Linked DNA regions of Homo sapiens: regions 2, 3, 4, 5 and 6 are each linked to region 1. The links are contacts of gene promoters, found by promoter capture Hi-C in human tissues and cell types (Jung and others, 2019). All regions are on one chromosome and are shown on one strand. Each heading gives the region's core, a stretch centred on a gene start or on the middle of the fragment in contact. The rest is flanking DNA. Distances are from core to core; before and after follow the strand shown.

Region 1 (4,996 bases), core at 1,709-4,208:
ATTTATAATGCATTAGCATGCTAAAAGACACTCGCACCAGCGCGCGACAGTTTACAGATGCCATGGTAGCAACTGGAAGTTAACCTACATGGTCTAAAAAGGGGAGGAACACTTAGTTCTGGCAATTGCCCACCCCTTTCCCAGAAAACTCATGAATAATCCACCCCTTGTTTGGCATATAATCCAGAAATATCCATAAAAATAACCAATCAGCAGCCCTCGGGGCTGCTCTGCCAATGGAGTAGCCATTCTTTATCCTTTACTTTCTTAATAAACTTGTTTTCACTTTATGGATTCCCCGCAAGGTGCCAGGTCCAAGAACCCTCTCTTGAGGTCTGGATCAGAACCCCTTTCTGGTAACAAAAGGATCTTGTCGCTGGCGTGACAGGGCATGGGTGCAGACTAGAGCACTGGGAAAGGCATATTAGGAGCAGTTTTTTCTTTTCTTTTTCTTTCTTTTTTTTTTTTTTTTTGAGATGGAGTTTTCGCGCTTGTTGCCCAGGCTGGAGTGCAATGGCTCGATCTTGGCTCACTGCAACTTCCATCTCCCAGGTTCAAGCGATTCTCCTGCCTCAGCCTCCGGAGTAGCTGAGATTACAAGCATGCACCCCCACACCTGGCTAATTTTTTGTATTTTAGTAGAGATGGGGTTTCACCATGTTGGTCAGGCTGATCTTGAATTCCGACCTCAGGTGATCCACCTGCCTCAGCCTCCCAAAGTGCTGGGATTACAGGTGCGAGCCACCGCGCCTGGCCTTTTTTTTTTCTTTTTTTAAGACAGGGTGTCACTTTGCCACCCAGGCCGGAGTATAGTGGCATGATCTCAGTTCATTGCAACCTCCACCTCCAGGGACTCAAGCGATCCTCCTACTTAGCCTCCTGAGTAGCTGGGATTATGGGTACTTGTCATGACACTCAGCTAATTTTTGCATTTTTAGTAGAGACTGAGTTTTGCCATGTTGCCCAGGCTTGTCTGGAAATCCTGAGCTCAAGCAATCAGCCCGCTTCAGCCTCCCAAAGTGCTAGGATTATAGGTGTGAACCACCACACCCAGCCAAGAGTAGGATTTTAAACACCAGAACCCCTTGAGGACTAAGCTCTGATTTTTTTTACCTTGCCCAAATTCCTACCTAAGAGGTCTGGAGAGTCATGCCCTACAAACCATAAATTCTCATCAGATGGGTTTTATTTAACCCTATATATCATGACTTACTTTCCAATCTGACTCTGGCATAATATTATGTGACTAAGAAGAAAGTCAAAAGATTTTACCCCAAAACATTTTTCTTTGCCATATCTTGAAATGGCCCTGCAAATCTGTCTTTTGTGGGGGAAAATTTGCATCTGTAAAGAATCTCTATTACCGGCCGGGCGTGGCGGATCACGCCTGTAATCCCAGCACTTTGGGAGGCCGAGGCAGGTGGATCAGGAGTTCAAGACCAGCCTGGCCAACATGGTGAGACCCCCCCCATCTCTACTAGAAATACAAAATTTAGCCAGGCGTGGTGGCAGGCACCTGTAGTCCCAGCTACTTGGGAGGCTGAGGCAGAGAACTGATTGAATCCGGGAGGTGGAGGTTGCAGTGAGCCGAGATCGCACCACTGCACTCCAGCCTGGGCGACAGAGCAAGACTCCGTCTCAAAAAAAAACAAAAATCTCTATTAACATAGATAGATATTTTTCCCGTTTCCTGCCCCACCCTCTCCCCTCCTCCCGGCTTTGAGTTGTCCTACCTTTCTGGACCAAACCAATGTATTTCTTAAATGTATTTGATTGATGTCTCGTGTCTTTCTAAAATGCTGCGCCCCGACCACTTTGGGCACATGTTCTCAGGACCTCCTGAGGGCTGTGTCACGGGCCATGGTCACAAATATTTGGCTCAGAATAAATCCCTTCAAATATTTTAGAGTGTGACTCTTCGTCAACACCCTCTTCAAACAAACCTAGGGATGGTCTTTCTGCCTGGATGCCTCAGCTGCGACCAGAAAGTCCACAAAGGAGCAGTGAAGCAGGGCTTGGTGCAGAGGCCATGCGGAAGGCACGGATTTTTGGAGACTGGAGAACCCAAGCGCAAATCCCTACCCCACTGCTCACCAGCAGGTTCTTAAGCAAATCACTCTGCTTCGCTGAATTTACTGTCCTCAGCTATAAAATGGTGTCCTCGGCAACTGGAGCTAGATGCCTTCGCCACTTTGCTGAAAGATATGAACTGTGCCCAAGGTGGGCGGTATCAGATAGGAGCCCCGAAGTGGAAACGTCCAGCGTGGGAATCTCCTCTCTACAGGGTCCCCAAGGAACTCCCGGCAGGCCCACTTCAGGGCTCCTTTCTGACACCGCCCAGCTCAACCTCTCAAAACGATTCACAAAATGCTGTAATAGCCACGATGCACCCTCACTGCACTGTCCCATCCGCCCCTTTTACAAATAGGAAGACCCAAAGATAAAAATAAGAAACCAAGGCCAGGCGCGGTGGTTCACGCCTGTAATCCCAATACTTTGGGATGCGGAGGAGGGCGGATCACCTGAGGTCGGGAGTTCGAGACCAGCCTGGCCAACATGGTGAAGCCCTGTCTCTACTAAAAATACAAAAAATTAGCCGGGCGTGGTGAAGGGCGCCTGTAATCCGAGCTACTCGGGAGGCTGAAGCAGGAGAATCGCTTGAACCCAGGAGGCGGATATTGCAGTGAGCCGAGATCATGCCATTGCACTCCAGCCTGGGCGACAGAGTGAGACTCCTTCTCAAAAAAATAGAAAAAAGAAACCCAAAAAGGCGGGGGAGAGTGAGGAAGAAAAGAAAAAAAAAACTGGAAGGCCTGGGCCGTGATTTGCCAGGGCCACGGCGTGGCCACCAAAGCGCTCCAGGACGACTCGGCAGAGCGCGGGCACCGTGGCTCAGGCGCGCTCCCCGGGGGCGGGGCGAGCAGGAGGGGTCACGTGACGCCCGGCCCGGAAGCGCTCGCGCAGGAGACCCCGGGTGACGGGGCCCGGCGCCGCTAACTGGAGCGAACCCCAGCGTCCGCCGACATGGCCTGGACCAAGTACCAGCTGTTCCTGGCCGGGCTCATGCTTGTTACCGGCTCCATCAACACGCTCTCGGCAAAGTGAGTCTGGGCCCTGCCGGGCGTGCGGGCCCTGGCGACCCCGGCGCTCGTTCTACGCCTTCCCCCTTCTTGGCCCTGCCCTCCTGGCTTCCCCTGCTTTCCCACTTGCTCCGGTCAGTTCGCGCGCGTTATGACCACCCAAGGGATGCGAGGCCCGGGGAAATGCGGAGCGGGGCTGCGCCCCGGACGGGGGGATCCGAGCCCCGGCTTTGATTTGCTGTACAGCCTCCGCTCCTGTTTCCACGTCTTTTAACAGGAGGGTTGGCCGATTCCTTTCCACGGCCCTTCCAGTGCTGGCGTCCAAGCCTGAGCACCTCCCTCCACGAGCTGGGAGAGACCCCTGGACTTGTGCACATGAGCCGCAGTAGTGGCTGTGCAGGCCGAGTGACCCAGTGAGCGTGGAGGCCTCAAGCGGCAGACAGGGAGGTGCCCCACGGCCCCTCAAGGATGAGGGGTTAGAGCTGTGCTTTGAAGCTTAGGTGGGATTTCGGAATGTGTCTGAGACTGTAAGTCAAGGAAAGTCTACGGAAAGGCCAGATCAAAGTCGATTGTAACCAGCATCAAATGCCCAGGTTAGATTTTCTCTCATAATCAGAAAAGTGCTTTTGAGCTGGGGAATGACATGTTGAAAGTGATATGATTGACTCAATGACATGAGGAGTGGTTTGGTGCAGGAAAAACCACTCCAAGGCTGCTGCATAGCAGATGAGGGGAACTAGGAGGTGGCAGTGAGAAGAGAAAGGAAGGGACAACTGGTGGCAGAGACCAGGTGTGAATGGCCACAGGCCTGACCCACATGAGCAAGAAACAAGGATCACTCCAGGGTTTCTGCCTGGGAGAAGAAAAGTGCCATTAACTCAGACAGAGAGGGCAAGTGGCCAGTTCAGCTCTGATGTATGGGGGTGAGAGGGGGGACAGTTCCCAGGAGGTTAGGGACTAAGGACCCAGGCAGTCATGAGACTGAGGGACAGGGCCTAGCCTCCCCTCTGTTGTGGGCAGGATGGCATTTCTTTGTCTCTCTCTGTCTCCATCTCAGGGCAGGGCCTTCCTGCCCCTCCTTTTCTTGTTGCCCAGGCTGGAGTGCAATGGCACGATCCCATGTATAAGGTACCTACGGTGTGTAAGGGAAGGGGACAGAAGTGACCAAGAGGCGATCTCTGCCTTTGAGATGCTTGGAATCTGAGGTGGAGGAGACAGACGTGTACGCACACGACAGTCACAGTGTTCTCCCTTCCCCAAACGGTGGGCACAGTCAGTGGAGTCCTGGGTGGGCCCCACCTGTTCCTCTGGTTCACCTCTGGCCAACTGTGCCTTGTGGAGAACTACTAGCTTCCCAGGCCCTGCATCCTCCTGAGGATCACTCCTCATGCTGAATCCTTAGCTGTTCAGAGGCCCCAGCCTGAGGGCTCCCATCTCAGGATCTGAACACAGCAAAGCAAGTCTTCTGTTCTGTCATGCCAGCCAGGGCCTCTGTCAAGTGCTTAGAGAGCGGTTGTAAGTCCACCAGGGCTGCTGCCCACAAGGAGAATCCAGATTGCCAGTTACTGCTGGGGTAAACTGTGCTGATTCACCTCCTTCCTTAGAAAACTCCAAACCAGTCAGGTAGGAAGCTTAGAGATCCTCAATCCCAGAAGGCGTCGCCTTTAAAGGCTGCCTGAGAGTCAGGAAAGAGGCTCCCAGGTGACAGACCCAACTTTTGGTCCTGTCCCCTGCCTGACAGCTGGTGTGGGGCCTCTCAGGATCCTCCCACCCCAAGATGGGCCCCCAAATTGGACCCTAAACAGTGTTCTAAGGTCAAACCACAAGAAGGGATACTCTTAGGGAGAAAGAACATGTGGGAGCAGCTGCATGCACCCCGATGTGAAGTATGGATTTGAAATCACATTTCTGGCCCG
Region 2 (4,996 bases), core at 952-3,451, 400 kb before region 1:
CTCTAGGAATATCCCTTCTCCTTTTCTAGTCATGAAAGAAAAATCCCCTTTCTTCTGAAGGACATGTGATTGTCTTTCCTTCTTCCCAGCATCCCTACTTGACTTGAATGACTCCTAGTTTCCTCTGAAAATGATACTTAGACCTTAAGTATTTATTGCTAAGTCTGGACCCTTATTGAGGAAGAGAGGAAGGAGGCACTTTTGGAGCCAGTGGTCAGCCTGCTCCTGCCCTCTGCTCCAACATCTTCTCTCTCACTCATTTTATCTTCACTCTGTTTCACACCCAGCTTCTGCCCCAGGCCAAAGAATTGGGATGACGAGGGAATAGTTGGAGACAAGTTTTGTTTTTATTGTTCAGTCAGTTGATTGCATTGAGAGGAATAGAAAGTTGGAGATAGATGGGCATTTTTTGCATTCTAAGAGAATTTTCCAACAGTAATACTTAGAAATGATGTAGTCAGGAGTGTTAGTGTTATAATTCATCTGTGTATGAGTTCAGCAGACTTTTCTGGACTGACCTGGAGAAACTGAGTACCACTGACAACATTGTTTTAGTAGAAAAATTTGGAGTTTCAAACACTTAAGACTTTTTTTTTTTTTTTTTTTTTTTTGAGACGGAGTGTCACTCTGTCGCCCAGGCTGGAGTACAATGATGCCATCTTGGCTCACTGAAACCTCTGCCTCCCAGGTTCAAGCGATTCTCCTGCCTCAGCGTCCTGAGTAGCTGGGACTACAGGCGTGTACTTCCATGCCCAGCTAATTTTTGTATTTGTAGTAGAGCAGGGTTTCACCATGTTGGCCAGGCTGGTCTCAAACTCCTGACCTCAAATGATCCACCCGCCTTGGCCTCCCAAAGTGCTGGGATTACAGGTGTGAGCCACTGCACCTGGCCAAGACTTTTGATACTATAGAAATTCCAAATATTGAAAGTATACATATGCTGAACTTTACTGAAACTTTTAGCCATAGCTTCTGTACATGTAATAAAATGGTAATTGAAGTTGGAAATGCCAACTCTGAAGCATGAGAAGATCATAAAGTACACATGAATAAAGAGTAAGATTAAATTTTGTTAAGCATTGTTTGGGTATTGTGGGTTTTTAAAAATTTATTTATTTATTTATTTATTTTTGTATTTTAATCCTCAGGACACCCTAAAGAATGTATCTTTGTAACTAGAAATACTATTTTCTTTGACAACTCTAAATAAGATTATTTACTTAGCTATTAACAGCATCAAACATATGTAAATGTTATATATATCTCCCCAAATCATATAAGTTCAAGGACCAGATAAACCATCTGTTCCCAAAATATTTGGAAAATACAAGATGGGAGAGATTAAATGATACATTCAAGGTTACACTGCTGGTTGATTACAAAGCCAGGACTAGACCCTAGACTTTCTGATTCTCAGTTGTTTTGTCTTAGGGGAAAAAGTGAGCTCTAGATATTTCAGAATGATTCTGATGCCCAAATCATTCAGTTGAGGTGATCTATCTATACCCAAATCAAAAGGTCTTTTGTTTAGCTAATTAATAGTATAGGAAAGGATAAGGTGAAGGCTCAATACAAGTTTGTAATACAGTCATAAACAAGAATTAGATTAAATGCAATTAATTTCTAAATTCCAAAAATATATTATTTTTCATTGTAGGCGCATGAAAATTATTTATTTTCAAGTAAAGGTGAACACTCAGTCTTGAGTTACGATAAAAGCTCAAAATAACTGCTTACTGTTTGTGACAGGCTGGGATGTTGCTTTTTTGGTTTTATCAGTTTCCTGGTATTATTTACGTAATTCTGGATTCAAAATATATTGTAAAGTACTTTAACTTCTAATGAACAAATAGCGACACTTCTCACTGTCAGTATATGCTATGGTAAGAACTACTGTACTTAAACTGTATTAAAATCTTAGTTGCTTTCCTTTTCAGCACCAGGTCACAAGCACGTGCCTGACTGGGTTTGGATTGTAGTGGGCATCCTCAACTTCGTAGCCTACACTCTAGGTAAGGAATTGGTAAATACTTACTATAGTCAGTGACTGGTGAATCAGCAAGGATAGCCACGTATTAAAATAACATTTTCTCCTGTGCTTAATTCATTTTAACTAGAGTTTATTAGTATCCTGTTCAAATTGATAAATATGTTTTTGAGTTTCTTTACAAAAAATTTTGTCATTCATTGCCAGGGATTCACAGAATAAGATAAGAGTTGGTAAACTACTACTTGTGGGCCAAATTTGGTGTGTAGCCTATTTTTGTTAGTAGAGTTTTACTGGCACACATCTATGCTTATTCCTTTATATATTGTCTATGGCTGTTTTCCTGCTATAAAGACACAGTTGAATAGTTGCAACAAAGACTGTATGGCCTGCAAAGCCTAAAATATTTATCATGCGGCCTTTAAAAAATATTTACCAACCTCTGGAATAAGACATCATTTTTCTTAAGTTTGGGAAGCAATACTGTCATATGTAATAATTAAAAAATAGTATGATAGAACACAGTGGGAAAACAAATAAGGAAGTGATCAATTCTTTTTTGGTACAGGGAGCGGTCAGGGAGTGGGCAGGGAGGCCTACTGTGCTAGACCATGCTGTCTGTCCTGCCAAGAATGCTTTTCATTAGGATTATCCACATGGCTTGTCCTGCATTCTTCTCTCCTTCCCTGCTTTATTTTTCTCCATAGCACTTAAAACCATGTAACATGTTATCTATTTACTTGCCTGCTTGTTTGTTATCTCTCTTTTCTAACTAAAACGTTAAGTTTTGTGAAAGTGAGTACTGCGTTGTTCACTACTGTATCCCCAGTATCGTAGACACTCGGTACATAGTTTTTAAATACATGTAAAATAGCAGACCCTGACTTCAAGTTGCTTAGATCTCTTCAGATAAAAGTGACTTGTTCTCATAAAACCAGCATAACCTGCTACATGATTAAATGCTGATATGGTAGATGTCATGCTGACCAGAGCTGCAAGAGTTTGGAGAAGGAAGAAATCAGTGACGTCTAGAAGAATTAAGGGAAAGCTTAGTTAAAAGCTACATATTTAGGCAGAGGTTTTTGCACATTTGTTATTAAAGATGAGCAGGTCTTTAAGTGCTGCTGAAGGATTTGGTTGCCAAGGACTGCTGAGAGGAATAGGGAAAAGTTGAGAGTGGCTGTGAGCTCTGACTTTTGACAACACGCCGTAAGATCCTTTTGATGTACCATCTACTTGTTCTAGGCCCACAGTTTTCTGGCAAAAACCCTGGTCTGACATGAACTATTTGTTGCAAACCAGTCTTGAACGAACATGAAGCAGTTTATAATCTTTATTCTACCTAGTGTGACTATTCATGACATTTTGCTGCAGAAATACTAAGATGTTTGATCACAGGATGCTGCTCTATGTCCTACTGGGGAGTCTCTGATAATATATGATATATGCCCTGAATTACCTTTTTAAGAAAAAAAAATTCTAAAGCATATCTGGACCTCAGACTTGTGGAGATGGAATGGGTGTAGTGAGAAAATGTATAAAACCTAATTAATACATAGTTATGAATTTAGTATTGTAATAACTGTATAGGAGTTACATTGAAAATGGGAAATTGTTAAGCCAGTAAATAATGAGAAAAGACTTTCTGGGAATATTTTAGCTACTTCAGGGCAAAAACTTTCCCAACCCTGTATAACAGAAATCTGTAGTATTTGGATAGGGAGTTTGGGATTCATCTTTTCATATAGTCTTCAACAATATATTATGCCACAGACTGATCTAGGCACTGGGGAATGTACTTTGGTGAGCAAGATTAACCGTAATTATAGGAGTTAATTCCTTAATCTGAATTTTTTCAGTTAGCCTAATTCTAATGCACTAGTTAACAAAACTGTTTCTTTTGGGGGAAAAATTGTACAGTTCAGTGAGACAGGCTGTCTCTAACAGGCTCTTCTGTTTCTGCCTGTAAAATGAAGGTATTCTACTGTGCTTTATCCTAAACTCTGGCTTTCTCCTCATTCCCTTGGTAATGGTGATTCTCACTCTACAGTCTTAGTTAAGATTCTCATGTTTATATCTAGCCCTGATCTGTGTTCTGAGTTCCTAATAAGTACCCTTGGATTGAGTTCCTTGACATTACCATGTGGATATCTCACTAACATTTCAATTTCAGTATCTAAAATTGTACTCTGCATCTTGTCTGTCACTCTTGCTGCTTATTCTGACTTCTTTTTTTCTATTAACACTACCACTATCTTCGTTACCCAGAATAGAAACTGGAGATTCTCTTCTTGTCCTTAGGCCTTATCCCTCATCTTTTGCGGCATTTTATCATTTTTATTTCCTCCATCTCACCTACCACCAGTTTCTCATTCCTACTGCATTTCATCTCAGGCCTACTAATTAGTGTCCCTCTCTCCAGCCTGTCATTCATACCGTCAGGTGCCTCTTCCTGAAACATTGCTTTCATTCTTGTGATTTCTCTATTCAGATACCTTTAGTAACTCCCCATATTCCCTACAACTTTTAAACTGGCTCAAACCTCCTTTTTGACCTTTTTATATACTTCACTCTTAACATGCTAGTCTCTAGTCAAACTAAGGTTCTTGGCATTTTCTGAACATGCATTGTGCTTTTCCACCCTGGTGTGTTTTGCTGATAGCATTCCCTCCTCTTTTTTTTATTGATCATTCTTGGGTGTTTCTCACAGAGGGGGATTTGGCAGGGTCATAGAACAATAGTGGAGGGAAGGTCAGCAGATAAACAAGTGAACAAAGGTCTCTGGTTTTCCTAGGCAGAGGACCCTGTGGCCTTCCGCAGCGTTTGTGTCCCTGGGTACTTGAGATTAGGGAGTGGTGATGACTCTTAATGAGCATGCTGCCTTCAAGCATCTGTTTAACAAAGCACATCTTGCACCGCCCTTAATCCATTTAACTCTGAGTGGACACAGCACATGTTTCAGAGAGCACAGGGTTGGGGGTAAGGTCACAGATCAACAGGATCCCAAGG
Region 3 (4,996 bases), core at 1,849-4,348, 340 kb before region 1:
CTGGGGCTAACAGATGGCCACAGGGTATAGATGGAGCTTGGATGTGCAGTTGGGGAAATCCGCATGCCTGCAGGACAGAGCTGGGGGTGGGCTGGGAGCTGTGGCCAGAGGCAGGCTCTTCCTTAGCCACCCAGTTATCAGTAGAACTCTGAGGTGTGTCTGAATTCAAACTAGGACTTTTAAATTGTCATAAAGGTATTGTGATAGGAGGATATATATAAAATATAGTTTAAATATATATTATATATTAATAATATACAATATATTATAAATTATATATAATTTATATATAATATATATTATATATAAATTATATATAATTTATATAATATATAAATTATATATAATATAAATTATATATAATTTATATAATATATAAATTATATATTATATAAATTAAATATAATTTATATTATATATAAATTATATTTAATTTATATAATATATAAATTATATTTAATTTATATATAATATAAATTATATTTTTATATATTATGTATAATTTATATATTTATACATATATACATTATAATATATTGTATAGTATATATAATATATAGTATATATAAAGCATATTATATATTATATATACAACATTATATATTATATATATTATATTATATATATATTTTGAGACAGAGTCTCACTCTGTCACCTAGGCTGGAGTACAGTTGCATGATCTCAGCTCACTGCAACCTCCACCTCCTGGGTTCACGCGATTCCCCTGCCTCAGCCTCCCAAGTAGCTGGGACTATAGGTGTGCACCACCATGCCTGGCTAAGTTTTATATTTTTAGTAGAGACGGGGTTTCACCATGTTGTTCAGGCTGGTCTTGAACTCCTGGCCTCAGGTGAACCGCCCGTGTTGGCCTCCCAAATTGCTGGGATTACAGGTGTGAGCCACCATGCCCGGCTGAATGTTTTATTTAACAATTTTTACATGATACTATAATTTAAAAATATTTAGACATATGGTATGTGGACCTCCATTTAAATGCTTTCCCTGGATCTCATAAAGGTGAGGGGCATTTTGGTCTGTTGGTGGCTGACATTTGGATTTTTAATTTTACTTTGAGTCTTAAATACTTGATTCAGAAATTTCTGGAACTCCAGTAATTGGTTAGCACATGGTACTTATACAGAACTCTCTGATGTTCACATTGAGTAGAAACTAGAAAATAACCCCAAACTGCAGGAAAGCCATTACTTCCTTATGCACGTAAAACCATTTTGTACAAGTGATAAAACTGCAGGCATTAACAAAAAATCTAGAGTGCCCTGGATATCTGGGTTAAAGCTCTGTTCTGTATTCAATGAAACTACATTTCAAATTTTTCATATAATAGTGAGATCAAGTGAAGTCTCTGGTCATTTCTGTGACTCCTTGGTGTAGAAGTTTTATAGGTTCCTAGTTTAAAAATTATTTGAGAGTTGGAGAGTTCATAAGTTCCAAAAAGACTTGAAAAAACTTAGGCATAACCTAAGGATACTCGAACTTTTTGTTGAGAGGATTTATCATCTTGAATAACATCACAACAAGGCTAGGAGTGAAGATACTGGAGATGGAATTTACGAAGAGGGATTTAGAAGGATGGCACCAATTACAAAATCCCTGAGCCCATTAAGGAGACAGCAGTGCAGCCAGCTACAATCTTTTCCTGCCTTAGAATCCATGTAATGAAAGACTCCACATATCATTAGCTGCAGCAGGACAGAAGCTTGTTTCTCTGTCTCAACAGTTCCGAGTATAAGTAGTCCAGGGCTCACATGGATGGGGTCTGCTTGATGATGGGACCTCAGCTCCCTCTGCCATTGCTTGAGTTGCCTTTATCTGCTCATCACCTTTTACTTGAGCCCCACATGCCAGCCTGGGAGAAGGGGCAGAAGTGGGGCAGCAGAGGGTACACCTTTTCCCCTTAAAGTCACAATTCAGAAGTGGCACACATTACTTCTCCTGTGTCACTGATCAGATAGTATTCTAGGTGCAAGGGAGGCTGGGAAAGGTACCTATTTTGGGAAGCCACATCCCAGCAAAAATTTGAGTGTTCTGTTACTAAAAGGAGAGGGAGAAATGGACATGGGAGCACAGCTGTCATTACCTGCCTCACTGTCATTATCTGCCTCACTGTCATTATCTGCCTCACTGTCATTACCTGCCTCACCTCCCCAACTGAGGTTCTTCGAAAGGCTCCCGGCAGTGTCAGTCACTTGGAGATCTGCTGGGGACAAGGCTGAGATGAATGTACAATATCTGCTGGTATAAAAGTTGGCTGGTGCCTTCTCTACAGTGAATAAATAAAGTACATTGAGAACTGCAGAGTGCTTTTTTTAAAATTTTTTATTTTGCCCAGGATTGGACAAAAACTTACCACAGTAGGATACTAATGATGCCCTTCTAGCCAAACGCAGTGGCTTTTCTCCAGGCCTCATCATATTATGACTGGATACTGGACTTTTCTTTCTCTTTTTCTTTTTTCTTTCTTTTTCTTCTTCTTTTTTTTTTTTTCTGAGATAGGGTCTCACTTTGTTGCTCAGGCTGGAGTGTAGCGGCGTGACCTTGGCTCACTGTAACTTCTGCCTCCCAGGTTCAAATGATTCTCCTGCCTCAGCCTGCTGAGTAGCTGGGATTACAGGCACCCGCCACCATGCCTGGCTAATTTTTGAATTTTTAGTAGAGATGGGGTTTCACCATGTTGGCCAAGCTGGTCTCGAACTCCTGACCTCAAATGCTCCACCCACCTTGGCCTCCCAAAGTGCTGGGACTACAGGCATGAGCCACTGTGCCTGGCCAAGAACTGCAGAGTGCTTTTAAATTGTGAGCTGTAAAATCACATCACAAATGTCCTGATAGAAAAGGGTTGCTACACAGAGGCTACTCTTAAAAATCTTAAGGTAGTTGCTGCTTCCTGCTTGAATGGATAGAAGCTGCGGACAGTTGTGCAAAAATGTTTCAGACTTTATATATTATTTACAAAGTGTTCTAGCTTTGTAAATTCTTATATCTCTCTTTTTAGAAATTGGCTAAACTTCTGCTCTGTGGCACCGAGTTGGTGACAAATATCCAGGTGGCTATAGATATCAGAGAGATTCACAGGAGAGTCGAAGAAGAGGAGATAAAGCGTCAAAGGTAAGGACTGTGCTACTCTGCAGCTGGTGGACATGAAGGTAATCTCCATGGGTCCGGCAGTTCTCCCGAATTGTTGGAGGGTGACTTTGTCCACCTTAGACAATTCCCTTCCTGCCCTTATAACTTCTCCCTCCCTCCCTCCTCTTCTTTCTCTCTCTTTTTTTTTTTTTTTTTTTTGAGACAGAGTTTCGCTCTTGTTGCCCAGGCTGGAGTGCAATGACGTGATCTCGGCTCACCGCAACCTCCACCTCCCAGGTTCAAGTGATTCTCCTGCCTCAGCCTCCTGAGTAGCTGGGATTACAGGCATGCGCCACCAAGCCAGGCTAATTTTGTATTTTTAGTAGAGACGGGGTTTCACCATGTTGGCCAGGCTGGTCTCGAACTACTGACCTCACGTGATCCACCCGCCTTGGCCTCCCAAAGTGTTGGAATTACAGGCGTGAGCCACCGCGCCCGGCTATCTCATCTCTTTTCTTTCCTCCCCTCCTCAAGCACTACATTGCTGATACGTGCCAAGCTGTGTGTATACAAAAGGAGTGAAACACGGCCTCTGTTTGTGGTATTCACAGTCTAGTCAAGAGACACATGGAAACACCCATAATTCGTGGTAAAATAGATAATGTGTAAAGGGTTGTAGTAACACACACAAGGAGGCCTTTAATTCTATCTGCAGAGATTACAGAAAACTTCCCAGGCAAGGTGACGTTGAGCTGGGCTGTGAGGGATGAATAGGAATTTGAGGAATTGAAGAGTAGGCATTTTAGGCAGAGGGAACACTTGAGCAGAGGTGTGAGATCACATGATGTGCTTGGGAATGGCATGATAGCGAAGGATGTATGCGGGTAATGGAAGAAAAGAGAAGAGGCTAAGAAGGTCAACTGGGCAGTCCTGGGTTTCAATTGGTGAGAATGACCAGACCCACGAATACCTCAGTGTTATGTGTAAAGGTGGCAGCATTATTAAAGAATATTGAGGGCTCCATGCATAGAAGGATGGAGGTTCACAGGGATCACAAGAACCTGCGTCAAGTCCTCAGCTCCAGTCCTCAGGAGGCAGGCTGCCCTGCACGCCCATGTCCCAGGTCTCAGGCTGTCCAGCAGGGAGGCATAAGCGGCTTAGAAGAATTAAACTTCTTTGGTTTGCACACAGAAGTAGACTGATAGCAGGTCCTCATTTAAGCTTTGGATTGTTCTTCAATTAATTTCTTAAACAATTAGAAGAACAACCACTTGGCCAGGCACGGGGTGGCCCACGCATGTAATCCCAGCACTTTGGGAGGCCGAGGAAGGCGGATTGCTTGAGGTCAGGAGTTCAAGACCAGCTTGGCCAACATGGTGAAACTCCGTCTCTACTAAGAACACAAAAAATTAGCTGGGTGTGGTGGCGCGTGCACACCTGTAGTCCCAGTACTCAGGAGGCCGAGGCAGGAGGATCACTTGAGCCCAGGAGGTGGACGTTGTAGTGAGCCAAGAGTGTGCCACTGGACTCCAGCCTAGGCAATGGGAGTGAAACCTAGTCTTTAAAAAAAAAAAAAAAAAAGGCAACCACTTGACCATTTTGTCTCATCATATACACACAGGGGTCGATTTTAACAATATTTTTAGTTGTTCAGCATAAGCAGTTCCCTCTTTAGCAACTTTAGCAGCCCTACCAGTAAACGTGGGTGACTTTTATTCTCGAAACTTCCCACTGCCTGTATGGGCTGTGCCAGGAATGGAGTCGGCAGATTCCCAGCAGGGTCAGCTTGTGAAAGGCAGGGAAGGTCATGCAAGGAGTTAGGCCTTGTCCTCTAGCCACAGAGGAATGCTGAAGGTCCCAGGTGGCAGGTTACAAGGTCAGTGTGCTGCGGAAAGATGACCTGACAGCTCTT
Region 4 (4,996 bases), core at 379-2,878, 320 kb after region 1:
TGAAGCAGGGAGCAAGGGCAGGACAGGGGCTAGGGTCACAGCCATTTTGAGGAGATACTGAGACAACAGTTTGGCTGGTGGGAGACTGAGGGCAAACCTGCCTCACGCGCCAGCCCCAGATGCCTTCTCTGGGATGGCTCAGGCTCAAGCAGAGGAGTTCAAGGTTCCAGCACAGGGCAAGGGAAGGAAGAGCAGGGATTTAACCCTTGGCCAAAAAGCTGACAGCTGTCAGCTAAGCAAGGCCACATGTTGGACAGTAAGAGGGACCCAGCCTGAGGGACAGGCCATGCCCACCAGCAGCTGCCCACCCCTGAGGACAGGGACCAGGGTCACTGACCGTACAGGGAGGAATAAAGAGGCCTCCTTCTGCCTCTGCCAGGTACCGCCGCTTCCTCCGCCCTCGCTACCGTGTGGCCTACAAGACAGTGACCGACATGGAGTGGAGGTGCTGTCAGGGTTATGGGGGCGATGACTGTGCTGAGAGTCCCGCTCCAGCGCTGGGGCCTGCGTCTTCCACACCACGGCCCCTGGCCCGGCCTGCCCGCCCCAACCTCTCTGGCTCCAGTGCAGGCAGCCCCCTCAGTGGACTGGGGGGAGAAGGTGAGTGTGGGAGCTGCTGCGAGGGTGGCAAGTTCCAAATGGTGATCCAATGCAATGGGAAATGTGGGGCCAGGCTGCTGGGGGAGTCCCCCGTGCTCTATGCCAGAGAGAAGAGAGGGGCAGAAGGGTTAGTGAGATCGCAGAGATTCCCTGCCCGTGTGTGTGTGTGTGTGTGTGTGTGTGTGTGTGTGTGTGTATTTGTGTGTCTGTGTGAGAGAGAGGGAGAGAGCACGCAAAAGATGGAGAGACTGAGAAAAAGAAGGCCAAAAAAGAGAAGGTGCTCGCACACGCCCCATGTGGCCAAGATCCTTCAAACAGCTGCAGGAGAAAGGGGCATTCCTTTGAGAAGCTTGGTCCGTGGGGACAGACAGTTGAGACTACAAATCCTAGCATGCATTGCACCTGACTACAGATCCCAGACCCCTCCGTGGCCTCTGGAGACCGCAGGTCCCAGCATGCAGCAGTTCCTGTGGCTTGCCTTCCCTCCTGCGTGCTGCACACCGGATGTGCTGTTTCCCTGCCCCGAGATAGCCTTACTATAATTATGCAAACAGGAACTCCTGGCCAACTCTCACCGTCCACAGAGCCTCTTCTTTGTCCCCGTGGTGTTGCAGGGAAGTGTCACCCAGTGGTAGCTACTGTTGTGGCATCCAGAGTGCCTCCCTACACTCCCATTTCGCCCCTCTTGACAGCCCCATGACAGAAGAGTGTCATTATCCTTTCGCAGAAGAGGAAAGAGTTTCCAAGAAGTTAAGAGGCACTCTGGGCAGGTGGAAAGGACATGGACCTGGGGGCTGGATAGATGGTCTGGGTTTGAAACTTAGCACTGCCATTTATTAAACCTGTGATCCATGGCCAGGCACCTAATATCTCTGGTCCAGTTTCCCAGCCTATATGATGGGAAGAGTTCATGGTATCTCCCCAGGGGAGTTATTGAAGAACAGAGCCATGGTTCATATTTGGCCTAGAGGCATTCAGTGAATGGAGTTTCTTTTTTTTTCTCTTGCCAAAATCACCCAAAGGAGAGGCAGAGCCAGCCTGGGCATCTGACCCTTGCTGGAGCTGGGGTGAGCAGGGGCCTTGAGCTCTGGGGTCCAGCCCCTCTGCCTTCTGCCTTCCCCTCTCCTCAGGTCCTGGGGAGTCAGAGAAGGTGCAGCAGCTGGAGGAACAGGTGCAGAGCCTGACCAAGGAGCTGCAAGGCCTGCGGGGCGTCCTGCAAGGACTGAGCGGGCGCCTGGCAGAGGATGTGCAGAGGGCTGTGGAGACGGCCTTCAACGGGAGGCAGCAGCCAGCTGACGCGGCTGCCCGCCCTGGGGTGCATGAAACCCTCAATGAGATCCAGCACCAGCTGCAGCTCCTGGACACCCGCGTCTCCACCCACGACCAGGAGCTGGGTCACCTCAACAACCATCATGGCGGCAGCAGCAGCAGTGGGGGCAGCAGGGCCCCAGCCCCAGCCTCAGCCCCTCCGGGCCCCAGTGAGGAGCTGCTGCGGCAGCTGGAGCAGCGGTTGCAGGAGTCCTGCTCCGTGTGCCTGGCCGGGCTAGATGGCTTCCGCCGGCAGCAGCAGGAGGACAGGGAGCGGCTGCGAGCGATGGAGAAGCTGCTGGCCTCGGTGGAGGAGCGGCAACGGCACCTCGCAGGGCTGGCGGTGGGCCGCAGGCCCCCTCAGGAATGCTGCTCTCCAGAGCTGGGCCGGCGACTGGCAGAGCTGGAGCGCAGGCTGGATGTCGTGGCCGGCTCAGTGACAGTGCTGAGTGGGCGGCGAGGCACAGAGCTGGGAGGAGCCGCGGGGCAGGGAGGCCACCCCCCAGGCTACACCAGCTTGGCCTCCCGCCTGTCTCGCCTGGAGGACCGCTTCAACTCCACCCTGGGCCCTTCGGAGGAGCAGGAGGAGAGCTGGCCTGGGGCTCCTGGGGGGCTGAGCCACTGGCTGCCTGCTGCCCGGGGCCGACTAGAGCAGTTGGGGGGGCTGCTGGCCAATGTGAGCGGGGAGCTGGGGGGGCGGTTGGATCTGTTGGAGGAGCAGGTGGCAGGGGCCATGCAGGCATGCGGGCAGCTCTGCTCTGGGGCCCCTGGGGAGCAGGACTCTCAAGTCAGCGAGATCCTCAGTGCCTTGGAGCGCAGGGTGCTGGACAGTGAGGGGCAGCTGCGGCTGGTGGGCTCCGGCCTGCACACGGTGGAAGCAGCGGGGGAGGCCCGGCAGGCCACGCTGGAGGGATTACAAGAGGTTGTGGGCCGGCTCCAGGATCGTGTGGATGCCCAGGATGAGACAGCTGCAGAGTTCACACTACGGCTGAATCTCACTGCGGCCCGGCTAGGCCAACTGGAGGGGCTGCTGCAGGCCCATGGGGATGAGGGCTGTGGGGCCTGTGGCGGAGTCCAAGAGGAACTAGGCCGCCTTCGGGATGGTGTGGAGCGCTGCTCCTGCCCCCTGTTGCCTCCTCGGGGTCCTGGGGCTGGTCCAGGTGTTGGGGGCCCAAGCCGTGGGCCCCTGGACGGCTTCAGCGTGTTTGGGGGCAGCTCAGGCTCAGCCCTGCAGGCCCTGCAAGGAGAGCTCTCTGAGGTTATTCTCAGCTTCAGCTCCCTCAATGACTCACTGAATGAGCTCCAGACCACTGTGGAGGGCCAGGGCGCTGATCTGGCTGACCTGGGGGCAACCAAGGACCGTATCATTTCTGAGATTAACAGGCTGCAGCAGGAGGCCACAGAGCATGCTACAGAGAGTGAAGAGCGCTTCCGAGGCCTAGAGGAGGGACAAGCACAGGCCGGCCAGTGCCCCAGCTTAGAGGGGCGATTGGGCCGTCTTGAGGGTGTCTGTGAACGGTTGGACACTGTGGCTGGGGGACTGCAGGGCCTGCGCGAGGGCCTTTCCAGACACGTGGCTGGGCTCTGGGCTGGGCTCCGGGAAACCAACACCACCAGCCAGATGCAGGCAGCCCTGCTGGAGAAGCTGGTCGGGGGACAGGCGGGCCTGGGCAGGCGGCTGGGTGCCCTTAACAGCTCCCTGCAGCTCCTGGAGGACCGTCTGCACCAGCTCAGCCTGAAGGACCTCACTGGTGAGGGGACAAAAGGCATGAGGGGACCCCTTTCAAGCCCCTTATTTTTCTTCTCCCTCCCCCAGCCCAGCTTCCAACTCATCTGCTTTCTCCTTGCTTTTCCCAACATGAATTGCAGCCCCAGCCAGTATTCCAGGTGTTATAGTTTGCCTGCAAGAGATGATGCAAGGTCCTAGCTCCCGCCCTCCCTCTGGCTGCTCACTAGGCCTGTGGGTGGAGAGAGGATGTTGCTCTGCCAGCCAGGGATCCAGCATATGCAGCAAGGGACCCCATGGCCCCCTCAGCCTGCAAAGCTCCACCTGTTCCATCCATCTTCTCCCTGTTCATGAAGCCACCACCCACCTTCCTTACCCATTGGAAACTCCTTTTATGGCCCTCCTTCAACTCAATTTTGTCACTGTAGGGCCTGCAGGAGAGGCTGGGCCCCCAGGGCCTCCTGGGCTGCAGGGACCCCCAGGCCCTGCTGGACCTCCAGGATCACCAGGCAAGGACGGGCAAGAGGGCCCCATCGGGCCACCAGGTATGTGCACTGAGACCCTTGCTGCAGTCAGGGTTGCCACTGCCCCCTCCAACCCTGACCCCCGCTGGCAGCCCCAGGCTTGACATTCCACTCTGAACTTGACAAGGGGAATTGGGTACTACCTGACCGATAAGGGAAAATCAGAGGAAAGTGAGGAGGAACTGTGATAGTCACTGTGTTTGGTTAATGGGTATTAGGAGGCTAATGGATAATGTTGGCCCCACTGCAGTACTGGAGACTAAAGCTGAGTCTATTATAGCTGTCTGGGGTGTGAAAGGCTGGGATGGCCCAGCAGTTGAACAGAATGGACCCTACCTATTCCTGTTTTTCTTGATACCCCAATTCCTGCTTTGAAGTCCACGTAGCACCGAGCACAACAGGAGAGCCTCAGCAGATGTTTGCTGAGTGACTTAGTGAGAGCTGCTTTATTTCTCACTGCTCCCTTTCCTCTTCTCACAGGTCCTCAAGGTGAACAGGGTGAGTGCCTTTCATTTGATTCTGGAGGGAGAAGTGACTAGGGGTTGGAGGATAGAGGTCCTCGGGCAGCCCTGGGCTGGGGATCCAGCAGGGGAAGGGGGCTGGCACTCTGCCCTGAGCATCCCCTTTAACATCCACCCTTCCCACTCAGGAGTGGAGGGGGCACCAGCAGCCCCTGTGCCCCAAGTGGCATTTTCAGCTGCTCTGAGTTTGCCCCGGTCTGAACCAGGCACGGTCCCCTTCGACAGAGTCCTGCTCAATGATGGAGGCTATTATGATCCAGAGACAGGTAGTCCTGGGAGGGGCTGGGTTGAACGGTTGGAGAAATGGGTGAGGTGTG
Region 5 (4,996 bases), core at 876-3,375, 260 kb before region 1:
AAAGTCTCCAAGAGAGTGAAGTCGTATCTGGTTTTATTGCTTTTTATTATTTATTTATTTATTTTTAATTTTCTTTTGAGACAAGGTCTCCCTCTGTTGCCCAGGTTGGAGTGCAGTGGTGCGGTCTCGACTCACTACAACCTCCACTTTCTGGGTTCAAGTGATTCTCCTGCCTCAGCCTCCCAAGTAGCTGGGATTACAGGTATGCGCCACCACCATGCCTGGCTAATTTTTGTATTTTTAGTAGAGACGGGGTTTCACCATGTTGGCCAGGCTGGTCTTGCAATCCACTCATCTCGGCCTCTGAAAGTGCTGGGATTACAGGCATGAGTCACTGCACCCGGCCTGCTTTTATTGCATTATACACTGTATGTATTGGAAGTGAAAATAATTTCACATTTGCATCCTCATAGCTCTCACTCAAATGTTTGCAAGGTTAATTGTGAATGAACTTGTCGGGAAACACTATGCTACCAGGTTAAATACAACAACCGTTTTGTTCAGTTCGGTTTAAAAAGTCTTTGGAGGGGACAATGTCTGGTCCAGTTAATAAAAGTCTCTGGTAGGAGGCAGTTTGAAAAGGTTTGGAAAACAAGCACTAAGTAGCAAGATGAAGATGAACCAGGGACCCGAAGGGAGCAGCTGTCTAGAAGGCTTGATATAGAGAAGTCAATTGCTCTTATGGCTATGGCCAGACACCCCTGGCCTTGAACCCTGGCTCTAACCTTGGCTAACTTAGTGGCAACGACCTGGGACAAGTTCCTGACCTTCCTGGGGCCTCACTTTCTTACCTATAAATGCAGTAACACCTATATTTGGGTGGTTGAAGAATTACATTAACTTCAATGGAAATACATATATAGCTCCTAGCACAGTGCCTGGCATAGAATAAACCTTCAAAAATAAGTTTCATGAACAATAATGACTCTATTTTTGATGTGTCCTTACCTCTTAGGCCAGTGACATGATACCTGAGTTGGGGTCGTTGTTCTTTGGAATTCTCCAGTTCTCAGCACACAGAGAAACAAAGCCCTGAGCCCAATCCCTTGGAAAAGCCCTCGGAAGTCTCAGGACACTTTGTGTTTGGGTTTTGGCAGAGGTGAGGGGCCGGCATTCTCAAACCCCTAAGGAATCCAATGGCTTGAAGTTATTTAAAACCACAGGGGCAGGTCCGTTTGACATTGCCTGGGGCTGTTTTTCAGGCACCTGGGAAGACAGTTGCCTGAGTAGATGGAAACTAACTAAAACAAAGATGAAGGGAGATGAAGTATATTCTGGAGAAAACATGGCCAGATGTACCTTTTACATAGAAAAGTGCCATCTTATCCTTTCCATCATCACCTGAGTGAGGGGAGGTGGGGTTGTCCGTAAAGAAGGGTTAGTGTGCTTGGGGTCTGGAACTAGGCATCAGAGATAAAGCTCTACCCTGGTAGATGGGGCTCACTCTGATTCTGGGGCCTGGTGCTGATACCCAGACCGAACATCCCCAGGACAGAAGTGCAGTGGCAGCCAGGTGAGATCTCTTGCAAGCCCTGTCCCCTCTGAGCAGCCAGCATTCTAACTCAATCCTAGGAAAGCCCAGCAGTCTTCTGATTTATAGCTGAGTCCTGTTAGCCTCCAAGGGAGGGTCTGGAGCAATGGAGGGTCCCTGGGCCCTTCCTGAGAGATGGTGTCCCAGCAGCCACCAGACATGCTCATCACCTGTCCTGCCTGCACTGTTGGCCACATTCACATTCTTACAGCTGTCAACCTCTCTTTGTCTCAGTCTTTTGTCTCTGGTCTTAGAAGCACACAAATAAAAAAGTTGTGTTAATCTCAGAAAATACAGAGAAGCAAAAAGAAGAAAAAAATCACTCACAGTCTCACCATCCAGAGATAAACAGAATCGTCATTACTTCCAGCAATCAAATAATACAAAACAACAATTTAAAAATCATGCCAGGAAAACTTTCTTCAAAGGCCCTTATTTTAACTGTTTGAATACTTTTTTGTAGTTCTTGGTCTCTTTATGGTTTTTCTAGGTGCTTCTCACTTTATGAAGTCCAATACTGAACATGAAATACTGGAAGGGCTTTGATTAGCATAGGCAGAGTTCTCAAGCTTTTCTTTGGGTTTGTATCTCTCTACTGATGATACTTCTAGGAATGCCTCCCAGGAACAAGCTTACTTTGGGAACTTATATTCAGCTTGTTGTTCTCTATGACCCCTGGATCCATGCCTCAGTATAGTGGATAATGCACATCCGGCTAGAATCCCCCACTAGAGCAGAGTCTGAAAGACATGAGGCCTCCAGGTGCCCACCTACCTGGTAATCCATGGGCCGCCCAGCACTTGGCTCCATCTTAATGTCTGGCTTAGATCTGAGGAAGAGAATGTACCATCAGGCCTGGGGTATGGGGACTGCTTGTTGGGGAGGAGGACACTGGCAGTGGTTAGACCTGGGAGTGGGCAGAGGGACAGAATCATGGTCTTTAAACACTCAAGCACTGCCAAGAATAGTGAGGATTAGTTGTCTTCAGAGGCCTCAACACAGAGAACTAATCAAAGGCAGAAGTAACAGAGAGACAGACATGGGGTCAATAGGTTCAAATATGGGGTGGGCAGGTCTGTGGCTTCCTTGGGCTGGGAGGTATTCAAGGACCTGAGAACAGGCCTGCAGCTGCTGTGCTCTGCTTTTGCAGGGAGAGAGGTGAGAAAAACACCCAAGGAAAAGCAGAAAAGGGTAAGGTTAGGTTAGGAAGAAGCCGTCCATGAGCCCTGATTCTTCCCTACCCAAATTCCAATCATGGCAAGCCAGGTCCTGCCTGACAGGGTGGGGGCAGCTGGGGTTGCAGGGCTCCCGTCCACTCACCGCTTGTTGGAGACATTAGTGGTGAGAGCTGTGACTGAGGCTAGAGACACCGAGTCGGGATCCAGTCCATCTCCTAGCCGAATGGCCAGATGGTCAAGGTCTTCCATCTCCAGCACCGCCGGTTCATCTGGGGAAGATGAAAGACTGGTTAGGTGGGCTGACTGATGGTGAGATAGTGACCATTTCTCCTTTTACTCTGGCATCCAGAAAGCTGAGAGTTAAATTCGAGGTTTACTTAGTTGCTACCGCTTAGAATATTATGGCCTGAATAACTGCAGTGTTTTTCTACCTAATCCCGATCTTGGATTTGAATGGCCATTATGTCTGGTCTTGCCTTTTTATTTTAATTGAATGCTCTTTTATTGTATACCACTTACTTAGGCACTGAATATCTCTTATGGAAGAAGGTAGGGAATAAAGAATCCATACTTTTGCACCTCTCAATAAATAGCTACCATTTGTTGGGTGGATACTCTCTGTTCCAGGCACAACACCAGGACTTTACATGACTATCTCTAGTCCTTAGAGCTGTGCCCTGCCAAGATGGGCGTTATTCTCATGTCACAGGTACAGAAACGAAGGCTTAGGAAGTAACTTATCCATATCAAACAGCTGATGGAATTCAGAACCTAATGCATTGGTGTGTATTCATCTAATGAGATGCAGACATGTGGATTCCGAACAGCCACCCAAGGATGCTGGGTTTGGTCCTCAGCCAGCAGCTGTACTCTCTCCATTTAAGAAGGTGAAGGGCACGGCTGGAATTGGCATGGGGGCAAGAGGGTGGGGGAGAGAGCCTGAGGGCCAGTAGGCCACAGAGGGGATGCTGGGGGAGGGCAGCCGGGAGCCCCGATGGTGGGCCCGTGATGGAGAAGATGGCCCCCTCCCAGCTCCCCTGTCCTCTCCATTTCTCCCCTTGTCTTCCTCCAGGCCTCCCGCCTCCTCTGCAGCAGCTGTCTTCCCCTCTCCAGTCGCTCCTCCGGGAGGGCCCAGTGCCACCTGCTGCTCCAGCCTCCCAGGCCCGGCCCTGCCGCGCCCTCCAGCGGCCCCAGGACCTCCCCAAAGGCCAGGCTGCAGCCTGGTGAGAGCGCTTGGGCGAGGCCTGCCGCCGACCCCGTACTAGTGGGACAACGGTTTCCCCCCAGAAATAGGGAGTTGGCCAAACAGCGTTTCTTGATGGATATTCTCTGCTCTAATTAAAACACTGGGCTTCTGCGTGAAGAAGGAAGAACCGGGAGCAACGAGGGCGGGAGGAGCCTTGTAACCAGGCACCCCCGACAGAGGGCGCTGCCCGTTTCCCTCCCTCGGCCCTAGGGCGTCTCCTTCCTAGAGGGCCACGCATCACTGGGTGGGGCCTGGCCCTGGGACGACCTATCCCAGGAGGGCCTTTTGGCAGCCGGGCAGGGGCTGGAAAGCGGCGGGAGGGCGCCGCGAGGCGCGGGGCTGCGGGGCTCACGCGGCACCTGTCCTACCTGGTCTTTGGGGCTCCTCCTTGTGAGACCGGTTTTTGCCGAGCTTCATGGCGGAGAACACGCTCCTCCCGGCTCTGTGAGGGGGGCCACCAGAATGAGGTGCAGGGAGAGGGACGCATGGAGGAAAACACACAAACACAGAAGAGCCAAACATGAGAGAACACATCAGAGAAGGGAGATGGACCCGGCCCCTCACCTACTGGTCCCGAGACAGATCGGGATCTGTCTTCCCAAATTGGGAGCCAGGAGGGGGAATCAGGGCAGTGAGAGACCCCTCCACTTCCGCCTTTGCCATCCTTTCACACACGGAGGAGAGGGATGGGGTCCCCAGCAAGCAGGGAACGTGGTCTTGAGCCGGAAAGAGCCGTTTTAACTGGAGCTCCTCTGGGTCTTGGACTTTTCAGTCTGATCCCAGCCCCTCAGTCTAGTCTCCTCAGAGCTCCGAGCCCTGCCAGTGTCCCCACGCTCATCCTCCCCGGCTCAGCTGGTTGGAGAGAAAGCCCGAGGACTGGAGACAGAGCATCAGAACGGCGGGGCAGGGACCAGAGAGGACTCAGGGGCAGAGGCCGATGAGGAGATGGGAGATGTGGTTGAAACGAGCTGTTCAGTTCTCAGATGGCCCTGGTGCTCAAAGCCTGACTTGTCTTTCTCCAACCTCTCCGTGTTCTGGGAT
Region 6 (4,996 bases), core at 702-3,201, 270 kb after region 1:
GTGAACATTCAATTTTGTTTTTTGTTGTTGTTGTTGTTTTGGGTTTTTTGAGACGGAGTTTAGCTCTTGTTGCCCAGGTTGGAGTGCAGTGGCACAATCTCGGCTCACTGCAACCTCCGCCTCCAAGGTTCAAGCGATTCTCCTGCCTCAGCCTCCCAAGTAGCTGAGATTATAGGCCTGCGCCATCATACCTGGCTACTTTTTTGTATTTAGTAGAGATGGGGTTTCACCATGTTGGCCTGACTGGTTTCGAACTCCTGACCTCAGGTGATACCCACCTCGGCCTCCCGAAGTGCTGGGATTACAGGCGTGAGCCACGGCGCCCGGGGAACCAATGAAAATGCTATTTCTCAGAACCTATCTCAGCTGCCGTCTCCTTCGGGAAGCTAAACTCCTTCCTAAGGAATGCATCGCTCCCTCAGCTGTTCATCCTGTAGGAATTTGGACTCTCTTAGTTCTTATCATAATACCTCAGTATGGCAGGTAGGAATCTCATCCTCACACACAGTTGTACATGAAATAGCACATTTCCTTAATTGTGATAAGTCACTTTGATTTTATCTTCCCTCATTCTCCTCTGCTGGCATGCTTCAAGGTTCTGAAGGCTCCCAGGATACTAACACCCTCCACGTGGATGTCTGAGCAGGAACCTGTCTGCAGATGCCTCAAGTCTGGGGCTCTCCATCGCTTCCCTGACACATCTGGAACTTGGGATTGACTCTTATGGTGGGAGGCAGAGCCTGTTCTTTCTCATTGCCTGGAAGGGGAAACCCGGCCCTGGCTGTCCCAGACCCCCAGACTTTTCTCAGCCTCCCATGAGAAGAACTCAGAGGCCAGGAGCGGTGGCTCACTCCTGTAATCCCAGCACTTTGGGAGGCTGAAGAGGGTGGATCACTGAGCCCAGGAGTTTGAGATCAGCCTGGGCAACACAGCAAAACCCAGTCTCTACAAAAAATACCAAAGATTAGCCGGGGGTGGTGGTGGGTCAGGTGATCCGTGGTGGGGGATCACCTGAGCCCTAGAAGTTGAGGCTGCAGTGAGTCGTGATCGCGCCACTGAACTCCAGCCTGGGCGACAAAGCAAGATCCTGTCTCAAAAAAAAAAAAAAAAATTATTCTCCATTCTCCACCTCCTACCCCAGCTCCCCAACACTCTGCCCTTTCCTCAAGCCCCCATCCTCTTCCTTGTTCTTTGGCAATAGATTTGTATAGCCCATTAAACCCGAGGTTTAATCACTAGCAACAGTAAAGCCAGCACTTTCCTAGAAGGAAGGAAGCATTTAATCTTCAATCTCTCCCTAGATATGAGGAGCACTACTTCCCTTCCATCCTTCCAGCTCTACGAGAAAGGAAAGAAAAACAGTGGCCGGGCGCCGTGGCTCACGCCTGTAATCCCAGCACTTTGGGAGGCTGAGGGGTGGGGGTGGGGTGGGTCACTTTAGGTCAGGAGTTCGAGACCAGCCTAGCCAACATGGCGAAACCCCGTCTCTACTAAAAATACAAAAATTAGCTGGGCTTGGCAGCGGGAGCCTGTAGTCCCTGCTACTCGGGACGCTGAGGCACGAGAGTCGCTTGAACCTGGGTGGCGGAAGTTACAGTGAGCTGAGATCGCGCTACTGCACTCCAGTCTGGGCGACAGAGCGCGGCCCTGGCAATCAATCAATCAATTGATCAATAAAGGAAAGAAAAACAGAAACAGTTCTACCAAGTCTCTCAATGCCGTGGCCTTCACATCGACGCTCAATGAACGTTCTCAGAAGGGAATCTCCTCTCCTCCCGGCCTCTTCGCCTGGGCGGGGGCCGCAGGCTGCCGCGGAAGCCTCTTCCCGATGCTCTTCGCTCAGGAGAGCCCGGCCCAGGAGAGGGACTACAAGTCCCAGGCTGCCTTGCGGCGGGCGCCGGGCGCCGGGCGCGCGGTCCTGCGAGGAGACGTGGCAGAGTGCGGCGCGCTCGCGCCGGACCGGAAAGCCGGGGAAGTGGCCGAGGAGGGAGGGCTGCGAGCCATGGCGACCAAGACGGCGGGCGTGGGGCGGTGGGAGGTAGTGAAGAAGGGTCGGCGGCCTGGGGTCGGCGCCGGCGCCGGCGGCCGAGGAGGCGGCAGGAACCGCAGGGCGCTCGGGGAAGCAAACGGAGTGTGGAAATACGACCTGACCCGTGAGTACCCGCCCTGCCCCGCCGCCTACCCCAGGCCTGTCCGGCAGGGTCGCAGCGAGCGGCTCCCAGAACCTGGGCGCGAGCTCGCAGGCACATCCCCGAGCGCCACGCTTGCGTTGTCTCTTTGGAGCCTCACGGGAGGCAGACAGCTCCAGGGAAGGTTGCGGTCCTCACCTCCCAGATGAGTAAACTGAGGCCCAGTGAAGTTGGATACCTTGGCCAGGGTCATGTGTCAGAGGGGCTAGGATTCCGGTCCTCAGACTCTCAGTTCACTGCACACACTCTCCCAGCTGCCCAGGGCCCTAGCTGGTCTCTCTGGGCAGGTGTCTGAGCTTTGAAGAGGTACTGTGGATCATTATACACGGTGCCCCCTCTTTAAGTAACCAGCAGGTCATGGAGGAAGGGACAGGAGGCCCAGCAGTGGGAGAAATGACCGCCACACACTCAACACTCACCAGGAATTATAAGTGACACCTGGTTCTTCCACTGAGGAGTGGAGAAAGATTGCCACTTGTTGATTATAGAGTTGTCATGTCGGAACCAAGAGGCGTTAGGGTAGGACCAAGATGGAAAAAGCTTGTCTTCCCAGACTAGTAGCCACTCACTGAATAAGGCAAACCTCTATATCCAACCTCTCTGCTTGTTCCTACATACTCTGATTTGTCTAATGAAGAACTGCCCCATCTTTATGAAAGAGCCCATAGACTCAAGAGCTGTAATGAAAGAAGCTACCAGGAGAACAGCCTGCCCTGCTCCTTAAGCAGTCCAAGAGGAAGGGGCTTTGAGACAGGCTCTTCCCTGGAGATGAATTAGGTGGCAGTGTGGGGAAAGGGACCACTGATAGGTGAGGCCTTGGGGACTCAAGGGTGGCCTGCCTTTCTCTACCTATCTTCACCCCAGCTGCAATCCAGACCACAAGCACCCTTTATGAGCGGGGCTTTGAGAATATCATGAAGCGGCAGAATAAGGAGCAGGTCCCACCCCCTGCTGTGGAACCTAAGAAACCAGGGAACAAGAAGCAGCCAAAGAAGGTGGCAACTCCTCCCAACCAAAACCAGAAGCAGGGCCGCTTCCGCAGCCTGGAGGAAGCACTGAAAGCTGTGAGTGTGCCTAGACATGAGACGCAGAAAGAATGGGGGCTTGAGATTTAGAGAAGATGAGAGGAGGGGGAGGTGGATGGGCAGCTGAGATCCTATGGGATTTGAAACACTTTAAGGGTTGAGAGGAGTTCAGGAAAAGATGGAAACCCCAGGGGAACAGAATGCCTGCACTTAGAATAGAAAGGAAATGGAAAATTTATAGGGAAACATGGATTGGTAAGAGGAAAGCCTTGAAGACCCAGGAACACCAGGGAGGAGATGGAGAAACTGGTTATGATTCTCTGTCCTATGGAAATACTGATCTTTCATTTTCTGTCTTGTCCTCTGTTTTCCTCTTTTTTTTTTTTTTTTTTTGAGTTAGAGTCTCCCTCTGTCGCCCAGGCTGGTGTGCAGTGGTGTGATCTCAGCTCACTGCAACCTCTGTCTCCTGCCTCAGCCTCCCAAGCAGCTGGGATTACAGGCGTCTGCCACCACGCCTGGCTAATTTTTGTATTTTTAGTAGAGATGGGGTTTCACTACGTTGGCCAGGCTGGTCTTGAACTCCTGACCTCAGGTGATCCGCCCACCTTGGCCTCCCAAAGTGCTGGGATTACAGGCGTGAGCCACCGCGCCTGGCCCTCTGTTTTCCTCTTGAACATGTGGAGGGCCTGAGAGGATAGGGCCTGAGATCAGCATTTTCAGCTGTCCTGTTCCATTCTTAAAGATGTAGGTACAGCAGAATTGCAGCATTCCATGTTCTTATGCTTAAAAATGGAATCCCTTCTTCCTACTGCCACCTAGTTCAACCATTTTCCCACCCCTACCCCATTTCTTTACTCCCTCACTCACAACTCGCCATGGTGGGGGGTTGGGGGATTGTCCCTGGCAGCTGGATGTGGCAGACCTGCAGAAGGAACTGGACAAGAGCCAGAGTGTGTTCTCTGGAAACCCATCCATATGGTTGAAGGACCTGGCCAGCTATCTCAACTACAAGCTACAAGCTCCTCTAAGTGAACCCACGCTGAGCCAGCATACTCATGGTAAGTCCTTCCAGCTTCCTCAAGCTCAGACAAGTTCAAATAAATTCAAAAAGGGTGGTATAACAGATCCCAGTGCCCCACACTGTCCTGATTTCCATGGGTGATTTGGGCTGGTCTCAAATCATCGTGACTGTGAATGTTTCTGGGCCTCATTCTGTGATCCTCCCTCTGGGCCTCCTCAGAGGAAGGATCCCAGCCTCAGTGCAGGGGCCTTTGCCTCCACTCACCATTCCCAGGGAGAGCACCACAGTTCTCAGAGCTGATGGGTGTCTGGTCCTAGCACTCACATTGAGGCCTATGGGCCTTAGATTATCCCTACAGCCTGGTGAGCCGGGAGCTACGTGGGATCATCCGAGGGCTGCTGGCGAAGGCAGCAGGGTCTCTGGAGCTCTTTTTTGACCACTGTCTGTTCACCATGTTGCAAGAGCTGGATAAGACACCAGGTGAAAGGGGCACGGGAGGGATGACCATCTTGGGAGCCTCCTCCTTTTTTTCCTGCTTCCAGTACCACTCAGTGGTTCTGTTTCCAGCAGAGAAATGTGCTAACCTTAACACTTTTTGGAAAGTGTGGAGGAAGTTAGGAGTCAGTGGACCTGGGGCCTGGGCTCACCGCTGACAAATGGGAGATTTCAGGTTTGGGATGCCAAATAATGTGAGTAGGTGTGAGAATGTGTATCTCTCCAGGGGAGTCACTACATGGTTACCGCATCTGTATCCAGGCCAT

What was found. The method cuts DNA at HindIII sites, captures the fragments that hold promoters and counts their contacts. A contact is called where the count stands out against the background at its distance.
Region 2: a contact is called between a fragment that was not itself captured here and the fragment with the promoter of SLC35F6 in region 1, in 1 of the 25 tissues and cell types used here (mesenchymal stem cells).
Region 3: a contact is called between a fragment that was not itself captured here and the fragment with the promoter of SLC35F6 in region 1, in 1 of the 25 tissues and cell types used here (pancreas).
Region 4: a fragment that was not itself captured here is called in contact with the fragment with the promoter of SLC35F6 in region 1 in 1 of the 25 tissues and cell types used here (pancreas).
Region 5: a fragment that was not itself captured here is called in contact with the fragment with the promoter of SLC35F6 in region 1 in 2 of the 25 tissues and cell types used here (liver and mesendoderm cells).
Region 6: a contact is called between the fragment with the promoter of TMEM214 here and the fragment with the promoter of SLC35F6 in region 1, in 1 of the 25 tissues and cell types used here (mesenchymal stem cells).

What each region holds. Positions count from the first base shown.
Region 1 is chr2:26,761,326-26,766,321 of GRCh38, forward strand. SLC35F6 (solute carrier family 35 member F6) reads left to right here and starts at 2,959. Exons shown (of 6, transcript NM_017877.4): 1 at 2,959-3,101. The coding sequence starts at 3,025. RefSeq lists an enhancer at 2,616-2,815 and a silencer at 2,826-3,135. The HindIII fragment of the contact is 8,469 bases long and covers 1-4,143 here.
Region 2 is chr2:26,365,209-26,370,204 of GRCh38, forward strand. It overlaps SELENOI (selenoprotein I), which reads left to right. Exons shown (of 10, transcript NM_033505.4): 4 at 1,938-2,012. Among named protein-coding and RNA genes, the nearest start is that of ADGRF3, 21 kb to the left of the region's middle. The HindIII fragment of the contact is 6,132 bases long and covers 1-4,996 here.
Region 3 is chr2:26,418,275-26,423,270 of GRCh38, forward strand. DRC1 (dynein regulatory complex subunit 1) reads left to right here. Exons shown (of 17, transcript NM_145038.5): 3 at 3,014-3,126. Among named protein-coding and RNA genes, the nearest start is that of DRC1, 19 kb to the left of the region's middle. The HindIII fragment of the contact is 5,834 bases long and covers 182-4,996 here.
Region 4 is chr2:27,080,353-27,085,348 of GRCh38, forward strand. It overlaps EMILIN1 (elastin microfibril interfacer 1), which reads left to right. Exons shown (of 8, transcript NM_007046.4): 3 at 380-600; 4 at 1,731-3,659; 5 at 4,063-4,179; 6 at 4,639-4,656; 7 at 4,808-4,945. Among named protein-coding and RNA genes, the nearest start is that of KHK, 3.9 kb to the right of the region's middle. RefSeq lists an enhancer at 967-1,226. The HindIII fragment of the contact is 5,307 bases long and covers 1-4,282 here.
Region 5 is chr2:26,499,449-26,504,444 of GRCh38, forward strand. OTOF (otoferlin) reads right to left here. Exons shown (of 47, transcript NM_194248.3): 6 at 4,324-4,397; 7 at 2,852-2,978; 8 at 2,306-2,360. Among named protein-coding and RNA genes, the nearest start is that of OTOF, 57 kb to the right of the region's middle. RefSeq lists a silencer at 4,262-4,391. The HindIII fragment of the contact is 3,846 bases long and covers 203-4,048 here.
Region 6 is chr2:27,031,014-27,036,009 of GRCh38, forward strand. It overlaps TMEM214 (transmembrane protein 214), which reads left to right and starts at 1,952. Exons shown (of 17, transcript NM_017727.5): 1 at 1,952-2,153; 2 at 3,054-3,253; 3 at 4,122-4,272; 4 at 4,581-4,715; 5 at 4,957-4,996. The coding sequence starts at 2,003. RefSeq lists an enhancer at 1,575-1,864. The HindIII fragment of the contact is 11,592 bases long and covers 1-4,996 here.